2 separate regions of the Homo sapiens genome follow, and region 1 is linked to region 2. The links are contacts of gene promoters, found by promoter capture Hi-C in blood cells and fetal thymus (Javierre and others, 2016). All regions are on one chromosome and are shown on one strand. Each heading gives the region's core, a stretch centred on a gene start or on the middle of the fragment in contact. The rest is flanking DNA. Distances are from core to core; before and after follow the strand shown.

Region 1 (5,661 bases), core at 378-2,877, 3.6 Mb before region 2:
CTCCAAACTTGCAGTTGGTGTCAGAAATCAGGGACACCTTAGAGACTGTGCCCTCAAACCTCACAGGTTGTCTAACTCTAGGTAAATATATCAACCTACAAATTGTCTCCATCACAAACTAGAGGCTATTTTATGTTTTTTTGTTCGAAATTCTCTTAAAGTATGTTTTGAACACTGATATGTTATCTTTTCTCATTTTAAAAAAATTCCAGGCATAATGAAAAGGGTGTTCTTGGGTCTAACTCAGTTTTGTGTCCCCAGCATCTAGATGGAAAGTACAAGTGATAGGGGGTTGATTTCAAGTAATAATCATTTTGTTGGAGGGGTCATTAGAAATTATTTGGTTATATGATCCTACTTTTTGGGCTTTAAATATAAACTGAATCTAGAAGGCAGAACTTGTTGTAATTACTATCCACACTTCACACATACTGTCTTAGTCCATTTTCTGCTGCTGTAAGAATACCACACACTGGGTAATTTATAAACAAAGAGATTCATTTGGCTTACAGTTCTGGAGGCTGGGGAAGTCCAAGATCCAGAGGCTGCATCTTGTGAAGGTCATCTTGTGGCAGAAAGCATCACAGGGGGAGAGAGGGTGAGACAGAGTAGTGAGAGTGCACAAGACAGAGAGAAAATGGGGACCAAATTTATCCTTTTATCAGGAGCTCACTCCCATGATAACTAACCCACTCCCACAATAATGGCATTCATCCTTTTATGAGGGCACAGTCCCTATCACCTAAATCACCTCTTTAAAGCTTCACTTCTTAATATTATTACAATGGCAATTATGTTTCCAATGCATGAATTTTTAGAGAACACATTCAAACCACAGCACATTCCTGCTTGGGCTTGAGCAAGGGCAGGAATGTTACTTGATTCTCCAAATTTAAGTCAGAATCCAGACCTCATTCTAATACAGTTGGTTAGTTTGGACAGAGCTTTGCCCTTAGCATCTAATTAAGAATATTTTCCTTAATGGATTTTCTTGAGCTGCCAAAATGTTGGCACTGAGTCCTAGTCATGATAAGTAGGTTTAAATTTTATTTTTAACTTAAATGAACAACATGTAGCCTTGTTAGTATTTTTGGAGGTGTCTGTCTGCTGTATGTCACTGAAATCATTTAATGTGAAGGGTGGGAGTAGATTGATAAAAAGATAGATGCCCAAGGAAGTGGTCTGGAATAGGAGGAGGATACGCAAAATATGGTATAGGGACATTTCTTTGATCATCCTAGTGATCAAAGATGGACCAGCTGTTAGCCAGGAGGGAACAAATCTCCTTTCCTTTTTCCTTATCTTAGTAGGATTTTGAAGTGCAAGAGAAGAGAGGTGGGGAGAGAAACTGAAGTTTCTGGCTTCCCTAGAGATGTATAAATTAAAATTATAAACTAACTTGTACAGTTTAGATGACTATGGTTAAAATGAGGGGACATTTTTGTACTATATTGTGTAGTCATCATTGTAATGGTTTCTGCTAAGCTACACATGGGCTGTTGTAATTCTAACAAAACATCTAAGCCCACATACAATTTTTGTTGCTTTCCCTCCTTTCTCCTCACAGATTTGCAGAAGATATTTTTGTGGTCAGCTGAGGCAGGAGTTTACCATTTAGGGTAGAGTAAGGAGAGAAAAGGACTCACTCTGTTTCAGCACATAACCTCTTCATTCTTGATTTTGACATCTTAGGCAGGATTGGACTTGAAAGGATATTTACTCTTTGGCTGTTGTCATACAGCTATTAGTTTCTTTTGCTGAAAAACAAATCACTCCAAAATTTACTGGCTTAAAGTAACAAGAATCATTTTCATTATCTCTAATTGTTTCTGTGGGTCAGGAATTCAGAACTGGGCACAGTGGGGATGGCTCGTCTCTGCTTTATGAAATTTTGGACCCCAGCTGACTCAATGACAGGAACAATCTGAAGGCTCATTCATTCCCATGTAAGTCCAGCTGGAATTGCAGGCTGAAGCACCCATATGTTTGTTCAATAGTTTACTACTGAACAAAGTACATTCCCCTAACCCTTGAGTGGGCCTCTATCCTGGAAATATTGAAAGGTCATGTCACTCATCTTTTGACCAATCTCCATATTTTATGTAAACATTGGTATATTCTCTTAATGGAATGTTACTTTTTTATTCAATTTTCACTAGTTTTCTCACTTACGTTCTATTTCTATTTCAGGATCCAACATTAAAGTTGGTCTCTTTAGGCTCCTCTTGGCTCAGACAGTTTCTCAGACTTTCCTTGTTTTTCATGACTTTAACTGTTTGGAGTAGTACTGGTCAGGTATTTTGTCTGATGTTTTTCTCATGGTTAAACTGGGATTATACATTTTTGGGAGCCTTATCTTTTTAATATAATCTGTCACTGTTGCAAAAGTCCACCAAAATAAAAATGTTTCCCTCCTCTGTTCAACAATCCTTCAGCTTCCCCAATTGTCTGCAGCAGAAAATCAAATTACTCAGCATGACATAGAAAGCTTTTCAGAATCTGGCTGTTGCCTTCCTCTTCAGTATAAAGTGTCACTCTACAAACCATTTGAGTTCTTTCCGGAAATGAAGCCCTAACAGTCTTGCAATGCCCGAGATTCATTCAGGTACTCAGTTCTGGCTAACTCCAGTGGATTCTCTCACCTTTTACTGCTCCTTATCTCCCGCCACTTACTTACACCACTTTCTTCTTGTCCTATACACTTTTCTAGATTTCCCCAATCTATTATTTACCACTGTGATCATTCAGTCATTCAATAAGTATTTATTGTCTACTTTGTGGACAGGCACTGTTGTATGGTTGAGGATACATTAAAAAGACAAGATTATGTCACTACCATCAGTGAGTTTACATTTTAGGGGGCAGGGTACATTTGCAAAGTACAAACAGTGTGGAAGTGAAGTATACCTTAGAGAGTCTGAGATCTCCTCTCTGAAGAACATAACTGTTGGTTTACTTGTCAGCCACCAGACTTTCCTTCTCTTTAGCTGCCTCAGAGGAGAGGGTATCTAACTCAGCTTTGTTACCCCAGCGTCTAGTTTAGCCTAATTCATTAAATTAACAGTTTTGGACTAAATAAATGCTCTGAGAGTACTATCTAAAAATTAAAAATCAGTTGCTTCCATCCCTTTCCCCAGATTTATCCTTGAAATACCTTTCAAACCTGTTTCTGGAAAAAACATTAATATCCGTAAGATTCCCATTTGAGTCAAGTATGATAACGAGAAAACTTTTGTCATTAGGATGCTAATATTAACTTCCTATTTTACATGTCCTAATTCAAAGGTAAATTTAATCTTCCGAATCTAGACCTCCCGGTTTTTCTGGAGTTGAATGGACAGGGTAAAGTCTGACACACTCTGAGTAGCGGAGTGGGGAACTGGCTGTAAGGACATCCTTAGAATAGTTAAAATTCCGCTGGGAAAACGAGGCTTTAGAGTGGCCTCGTCCTCTACGGCTACCCAGGCAGCCTTCACAAGGAAGGGCGACCAGAGTCCGCCAGTGCATAAGAGAACTACACTTAATTCACGCGGGCCTCTTTCTCCAGTCCACCTAATACCACAGGAACCTACCCAGGGCCCGCGCCCCGCCCGTTTCCGGGTTGTCGCCGCCGCTGCCGTCAAGTGCGTAATGACGTATCAATCTCCTGAAGACCCCGGAAGTGCAACTCGAACTTGGTCGGGGCGCGGATCCCGAGAGGGAAAGTCATAACAACCGCACGAGGGAGTTCGACTGGCGAACTGGAAGGCCACGCCTCCTCCCGCCTGCCCCCTCAGCCCTGTGGCTGGGGGCAGAGCTCAGGTAGGACTGCCGTTTGCGGGGATGTGAGCTCCGGGGGCAGGCCCGGGTCGAAATCAGGAGGGGGCTGGCCTGGGTCGGTCTCAGGCGGTGGTCGCTGGCCCTGGGGACCGAGGCTGTCTGGAACCACGCTGCATTCCCTGCGGACACCTCTGACTTGTGTCTGGGCCTCCGCTGATGGGCAGGTCCCATGTTCCATTTCCACTCTCTAGGCGGGAGCGACGTGTGTGTTCCCTGGATGACTTTCCTTATGTCGGGGCGTACGGGATTCTGGGAGTCCCTGGAGACAGAGTAATGGGCCCTCCTCCGCTTTCTTGCGAGTGGAGGTATTGTGGTTGTTGTATTAATTTTTTTTTCTACAAAAAGTATTATTAACTGCCAGCGCTTTACCAGAAGTCATTCACTGCAGAGGGATTAAAGTGCAGTTATAAAATGCTCTCAAAACTTGTAACATGCATGGGCGCGGGTGGGACGTTTCTCTGGGATGCAGTATGAATTAAGTGTTGAATACTTTTGACTTTGAAATAAAGTAAGTATGTTTTGGAAGCAGTCTTCTCTTTCCCTCATCCAGGTGTTTAACATATTCTTATAGTGCTCCAGGGTCTATATCTGTTGGGCCAAGAAACTCGTTGTGTTTGGATATACTGTATTTAATGACATGCAATGTTGTTGCATTTGTCCATTTCTCCCAAATCCTCAAAAAAGCTGTAGAGGGAAAAATTCTCTGGTTTTTATCTACAAGTGCATTGTATATTTATCAAAATATCAGTGCGATTTTTTAATGTAGTACATGACATCGTTTGCATTAACGCATGCCATATACTGCATAACAAATATCTCATTGATAAGGTGTATTCTTTATCCTACAATGCGAGGGACGGTTACACTGTATACATTTAGCGAATGTAGAAACTGAGTAAGAGAGTATTTTTGGATCTGCTTCGTTAAGGCCTCAGTGACAGTGCTGGTACCAGGCTTCTTTCAGAATTTTCAACTAGGCCTTACTTCCACTTAACCAGTGAATCCTACGCTGAAAAGTTAAGGATGCTCTGGATGCTTTCAGGCTATGGCTGCTCCATATGGTAGAATAAATAGTACCAAGGCCAAGAGGGAAATATTATCTATGAAACCATGAGCATCCACTTGTTTATCCATTTAGCAAGTATTTACTGGCAACCTTCAGTGTGCCGGATAGTGTTCAGGTGATGGGAAGACAGCAGTAAACAAAATAGAAAGTCCTTTTGCTCCTGGAACTTACATTCTAGTGGATGGAGACGTATAATTAACAAGTAAATATATAACAAGTAGTGATTAAGAGGTATAGAGAAAGGCAGGGCGCGGTGGCTCACGCCTGTAATCCTAGCATTTTGGGAGGCCGAGGCGGACGGATTGCCTGATCCCTGGAGTTTGAGACCAGCCTGGGCAACACGGTGAACCCCGTCTCTACTAAAATACAAAAAAATTAGCTGGGTGTGGTGGCGTGCGCCTGTATTCCCAGCTACTCTGGAGGCTGAGGCAGGAGAATTGCTTGAACCGGGAAGGCGGAGGTTGCAGTGAGCCGACATCATGCCACTGCACTCCAGCCTGGGTGACAGATCGAGACTCCGTCTCCAGAAAAAAAAAAAAAAAAAAAAAGAGGTATAGAGAAAAATAAATTAAGGGGAGAGAGAATGATAGAGGATGCTATTTTAGATAGGGTGGTAAGCTCACCCTCTCTGATAAGGGAACACTTGAGTGGAGATCTGAATGAAATGAGGGAGTGAGCTCCGCAAGTATGGAGGAATGAGTTGGCCTAGTACAAAGGCACTGAGACAGGAGCGTGTTTGATATATTTGGAATAGCAAGGATGTAGGCATGGAGGTA
Region 2 (5,578 bases), core at 1,997-4,496:
CATTATGGCAAAGCCATGATTACAATAATCATTATGTTTAAAAATCACAGGATTAAAGGCAGCTAGAGAGGTCATGTGGTACACCTGCTAGCAGAACATATCCAAATCATCCAGTCTGTTTTTTTCCAACACTTCGAGAGAAGAGACACAATAATTTTCTCTCTACATAGGTTATTTGAAGATCAGAGATGTGGGAGTTTTTTTTTTTTTTAAGTTTCACTCCATAATCCAATTTTAACTTCATCTGAGATTACTTAAAGTATTTCCTTATTGTCCAACAGTTCTTTCTAGTTCTGCTTCTGAAAAGTAGAAGCTGGATAGAAAAGGCTGCTATAAGGATAGAAATAGGAATAATAGGAAGGAGGAGAGAGTAAAAGAGCAGGGTTGAAAGAAATCAGAAAGAGGAAAATCAAGAAGACGTGTAAAAAGAATTCAATGTTTTGTTACCCTTTCATTTTTTGATTTATAAGAGAATTGATCTGGTTCTTTTCTCCAGACATTTGCCGCCTGAATACAAAGTACAAACAGACTCAGGAATGACTAAGAGATGGATGGTTAACTATAGGTTAGCTCCAGAATAAACAAGTCCAGTTACTTAGAAATAAAATGTGTTAATTCTTAATATAATAAAAGCATGTAGTAATAAAAATTCAGTCTATATAGAAAGTTCTAAGAGGAAAAGGCAAAATTTCCTGCCTACTCCCCTGCCATGTCTAGTCCTTTTCAGCCACTGTTAAAATTCCTTGAGTGACTTTCCAGATAGAAAAATTAAGTGCATCTCTCTGCATATATGTGTGTGTGAATGTGTATGTGTATATGTGTGTCGGTGGGGTACGGGGGGTAGGATGAGGGATGCTTATTTGAAATTTTATTCCATAGAAATAATATCATACCTCCTATTTTTTCTTCCTAAAATAGACTAAAATACATTTTAAAGATCTTTCTACACGCTTCAGTCATTCAAGCTCCATAAGTAAGGGGAATTTGTCTTTTTAAGCACTGTTTTTCTTCAACAGAAACTTATTAGGTAAATGAATGAATAAATCAGCAAATGCCAGATTAACTTCACTCTTCTGAAACCAAGTATAACATTATATTGTTTTAATGTACCGGAAGTATCAGTCAACTACTGATAAACATTTAAAATATTTTCAGATTTTGGCTATTACTGTGCAAACATTCCTGAACATATCTGTTAAATCTTGCACATATGTGTCTGTAAGTAAATCTAAGGTAATTACTTAGCAATGTAATAGTTCAGTCAGTTGCATTTAAAATTTTGATAGATATTGCCTAACAGGTTGCATCAATTTACACTCTCACTTCAGTACAACTTCTACTCTAGGGCAACTCACAAAAACTAAACGTTAGTGACTAAAACACATATTCCTAGAAATGACATATTCTTTCATCTATAGCGTTTTAACAGAAACTGTGTCAGGTGAAATCTTGAAACACTAAAAATCCTTTGGCTCTGCTGAGCACTGGGGACATCCTTTTTCTCAAAGACAAAATGCTTGTTCCTACTGGCCGGCTTTTTGGAACTTGGCCAAAATTCACGCTAACTGCTTCTTTTGTATATTCTAATAATAAAATATAATCCTATTCTTCCATTTTTATAAAAAGTTTAATATTTGCATCCTTGTTAAATACAAATAACTATTCAAGAGCATGCAGATATCTTTGAGAAAGTTATTTATATGAAGGATACAGGTATCGGTCCTATAGAAGTGCTTGAAATCTATCACTTTGGCTCTCACATTAATTCCGCTGTCTATTGACATTAAAATAAGAAAAGTAACCTATAGACAGAAAGAAGGTTGTATTCCCATTAACATTCATGAGGGCTAAGCAGCCGAAGTCCTACATATCAAGCAGGGAATATATCCTTTGTCTGCTGATGAGAGAACGTCTCAGTGATAAATGGTTACAGACAGGGGTGTCATGAGGGCAACAACACACAGAACAATTCAGACAAACTTTTTAAAAAAGTCTTCTCCTGCAGTTTTTTTTTGTGGCGCTGGGAAGCACAGTGCCTATCCCTGCTAATAAAAGAAAACTATTGCAATGCAAAACTCCTAACCTTTGCAGAGGCACTTACCAGAAAACCAAAAACATACTCTTTGAAAAACAATTTAAAACCAAGCTTCAAAGGCTTTCTAATGTATAAATATTCAGACATTCTGAAAAGCACTGCTCTGCACCCTGCACCCCAGCTATTTGTGCCTAAAATGGATATTGTCGTAACAGTTAGCATGGTTGTCAAAGTGCAACGTCTCTAATATCAACACTGAGAGACATCAGACTCATTAAAATGCTTTACATTCATTAATTAGGTTGGTGCAAAAGTAGTTGCGGCTTTTGCCAAAGTCATACATAAATTCAAACACATTATGATACTCATTTAACACATTTGTGATAAAAATCATGTATGAAGTCATGAGTTTATTTAATAAGCTAATATTCCATAGAGTCCAATGGTGACTACCAATGACTCAGTTAATTTTCAAACCAAAATAAGTTAGATTACAATTTGTTGACTCCCTTGACTCCTCGAGCCAGGGAAAACATTTCCTGGGGCCTGACTCTAGGTGGCTCACTTCCCTCACCTAAAAACAGGAAGGGTGAGACAACCCCCTCCAACCCTCGTCCTCGGTCCCCCAAGGATTTCTCTCCAGAATTCTGCCTCTTCTGCAGCAGTCTGGAGTCTTCAGCATGAAAAGGGTAACAAACATGGCGCAATTTTCTGAAACCGTGATGTCAACAGTGTTTTTGAGGTGTCCTTTCCCACCCTAAAGAAAATTCGAGATGCACAGCAAGAAAAAAATGCAAGACAGCTCCCCGACACATCCTGAGCCACGCCTCGTCCTCAGGGTGCACCCGACAGTCTCTGCCAGCGCAGTGTGGACGCTGGACAAAGACGCAGCCAGTAGGTCGCTGGTGGTCGCGGGTTGGATCCGCTGACTTGGCCACCAAATCTTTTCCTCGGGGAGTGAAGCGGCACGGAAGGAGCGGAGTCAAGGGCGGGGCTGGGGATTGGACCCGCCCCCGGGCCCGGGGATTGGACCCGCCCCCGGGCCCCGGAGGAGTCCCTGCGCCTGCGTGCCGGGCGTGGACCTGTGGTTGGACTCCCCCGTTTTGGGCTGCCCTCCGCGTCCTCCCCCGCCCCTTCCCACCTCCGCCCACTTGACGCGATGACGCATCTCAGGTTTGCGGACGTGGCGGCGGCGTACGGCCCGGAAGGCGGAGACGTTGGCGGCAGAGGCGGAGGCGGACGGGGTCAGCCCAAAGCAGAGGCTCGGCCATGAACTTACCCGGGACAGCGGCGGCGGCGGACCTTTTGGCCATCTTCTCGCAGAGTGCTCCCTGCTAACGGGGACAGGTAAAGATGGTGGCAGGAGGTGAGGGTAGCCCGGTCCAGGAGGGCGGGGTTGAGCCCCAGCTGCGTCCTCACGGGAGGCGCTGAGCCTCGGCCACAGGTGTGGTGGGGGCTGCAGGGCCGGGCTCGGCCCGTGTGGCGGACACCCCCGAGACAGGGAAGAACTTCCAGACCAGCCCTGCCAGGCCCTCTTGTCACACTGTCGGGGAAACTGAGGCTCAGAGGAAGGACGCCTACCTGCTGGATTACCTGGGCAGCTAATTTCCCACCCAAACACAGCATTTCTCCCACGACTTTATGTTGGCGTGAAATATTCGCTGACGGCATCTTGTCACATCGTTCAAGTGTCATGCTGTGACAGAAGACTCTGAGACGTAATCTTCGCTGACGATAGCAGGGAAAGAAAAACTTGACGTGTGGAATACAGAGGGAGGAGGTAGTTAAGTTTTAAAAAACAAAATTGTCCCTGGCAGCGGATAGGGTGCCTTTGATTCTGTCCCTTTGCAGCTTTAACTTGTGCCCTGTGACCCTCTTATTGCACCTTGCTTAGTTAAAGAAGGTCAAGGCGAAACACCCAGCAGCCATTCTACAGTACGAAGGTGTTTGGGAAACCGTTTTCAGTTACAGACTGAGCTGAAGAATGCTTTAACACTGTTTTGTGGCCCCTCGTAATCTAGGTAGCACGCAGGCTTGTTCCAAGTTTCTGAAAGGGAGTTCGTGCCTTTTTCCTGCTCTAAGAGAATTAAGAGAGGTGAATAGAATTGAGCCAGATGACTTAAATATTATGTATTTTCTAATCTCTGAGTAGTAGACTGGAGTGATCGCCTGGGTCAGTCTGTTCACTTCGGTTGAAGACACAGCCAGTTCTTGATCATTCAGAATACCCAGATTTGTAACACGATAGTCAGCTGCCTGCATTTCATTATAAAGGGGAGTGGAGAGATAGTGAGACAGGTGAAGTTCTGACCTTTAAATTATATTTAGAAATATATCGTGGAGAGAGGTTGATAGAAACAAGTATCTAAAATGGCTTTGGGGCATTGCTTAGTGATTTTCAGTTAGCTGCACTACTAAGCCAATTTTGAAGTTCTAAGTACAAATTATTAGGGTGAAACTGTCTAACAAGACACATAAGTAGGTCGGTATAGCCAAGTGTAAATTGCTGTATATTAAGTCTTAACTTTTTTGATCATGGATGCCTTTTGAGAATATGAAGCAATGAAAATTCTCCCCAGAAAAATATACATATGTATAAAATTTGCCTGGAATCTACAGGATTCAAAGACATTCCCTAGGTTAAAGACACAAGATTAAAAAAAGACCTGGTTAAATGAGTGGAAATAAAACTGTTATCCTTGGAGGAAAAGATGTGGTCATGACTTCAAAACTGCTTTTGAGATATAAAATGTGATAGTTTTCTTTAGTTTCATAGCTGTCAAGTTAGGAATCCTAGTTCTTGGTAATAATGTAGCACTTCAGAGAACAGTTGAAATAATCTACTTAACATATAGCTATTAGTTATCTGTGTTATCTGAATAGGAACTCTTGAGCTTTTAAAGCATTATAATATTGCCATTAGAGCAAGGTCAGAAAGTGCTTTTCAAGGGTTGGATTCAACTATATTAAATAGTTTTAAAGCATTTTATGATAAGTATATGCCTAGAAAGTACAGGTTGGGTAGTCCTTACCTGAAATGCTTGAGACCGGAAGTGTTTCAGATTTCTTTGGATTTTGGAATGTTTGCATATACATAATAAGATACATTGGGGATGGGACCTGTCTGAACATGAAATTTGTGTTTCATATTCAACTTATACACATAGTCGGAAGGTAATTTTATATGATTTGTGCACAAAAGTTCTTGTACCTGGAACCATCAGCAGGTAAAAGTGTCACTATCTCAGCCACCCTTGTGGAAAATTTGTGGTTGTTTGGCATCACCGTCATTCCTAACTCTGAATTTGTATGCTACTAATAAGCAGTCATTTTCTTACACTTTTTCACACATAAGTGCTTAACAGTAAAAAAAAAAAAAAAAATACCATTAATACAGTGAAAAAATAATGTGTTCAGGGTACCTAAGCACATCACCAGAATACCTGTACAGGTTTAGCATTCCTAATCTGAAATCTGAAACGTCAGTTGTGGAATTTTCCATTTGTGGCTTCATGTCAGCACTCAAAGTATTTCAAATTTCAG

The links. Contacts are between HindIII fragments. The CHiCAGO score rates a contact against its expected background, and 5 or more counts as called.
Region 1: a fragment that was not itself captured here is called in contact with the fragment with the promoter of LYSMD3 in region 2 in 3 of 17 cell types (naive CD8 T cells, total CD4 T cells and naive CD4 T cells); the score reaches 6.9 in naive CD8 T cells.

What each region holds. Positions count from the first base shown.
Region 1 is chr5:94,109,651-94,115,311 of GRCh38, reverse strand. LOC105379087 (a long non-coding RNA gene) reads right to left here and starts at 3,610. Exons shown (of 7, transcript XR_001742441.2): 1 at 3,573-3,610; 2 at 2,908-2,987; 3 at 1,647-1,757; 4 at 511-565. ARB2A (ARB2 cotranscriptional regulator A) reads left to right here and starts at 3,649. Exons shown (of 11, transcript NM_032042.6): 1 at 3,649-3,801. The HindIII fragment of the contact is 1,727 bases long and covers 764-2,490 here.
Region 2 is chr5:90,527,252-90,532,829 of GRCh38, reverse strand. LYSMD3 (LysM domain containing 3) reads left to right here and starts at 3,246. Exons shown (of 3, transcript NM_198273.2): 1 at 3,246-3,382. RefSeq lists enhancers at 2,590-2,849, 3,475-3,975 and a silencer at 2,960-3,209. The HindIII fragment of the contact is 4,420 bases long and covers 2,149-5,578 here.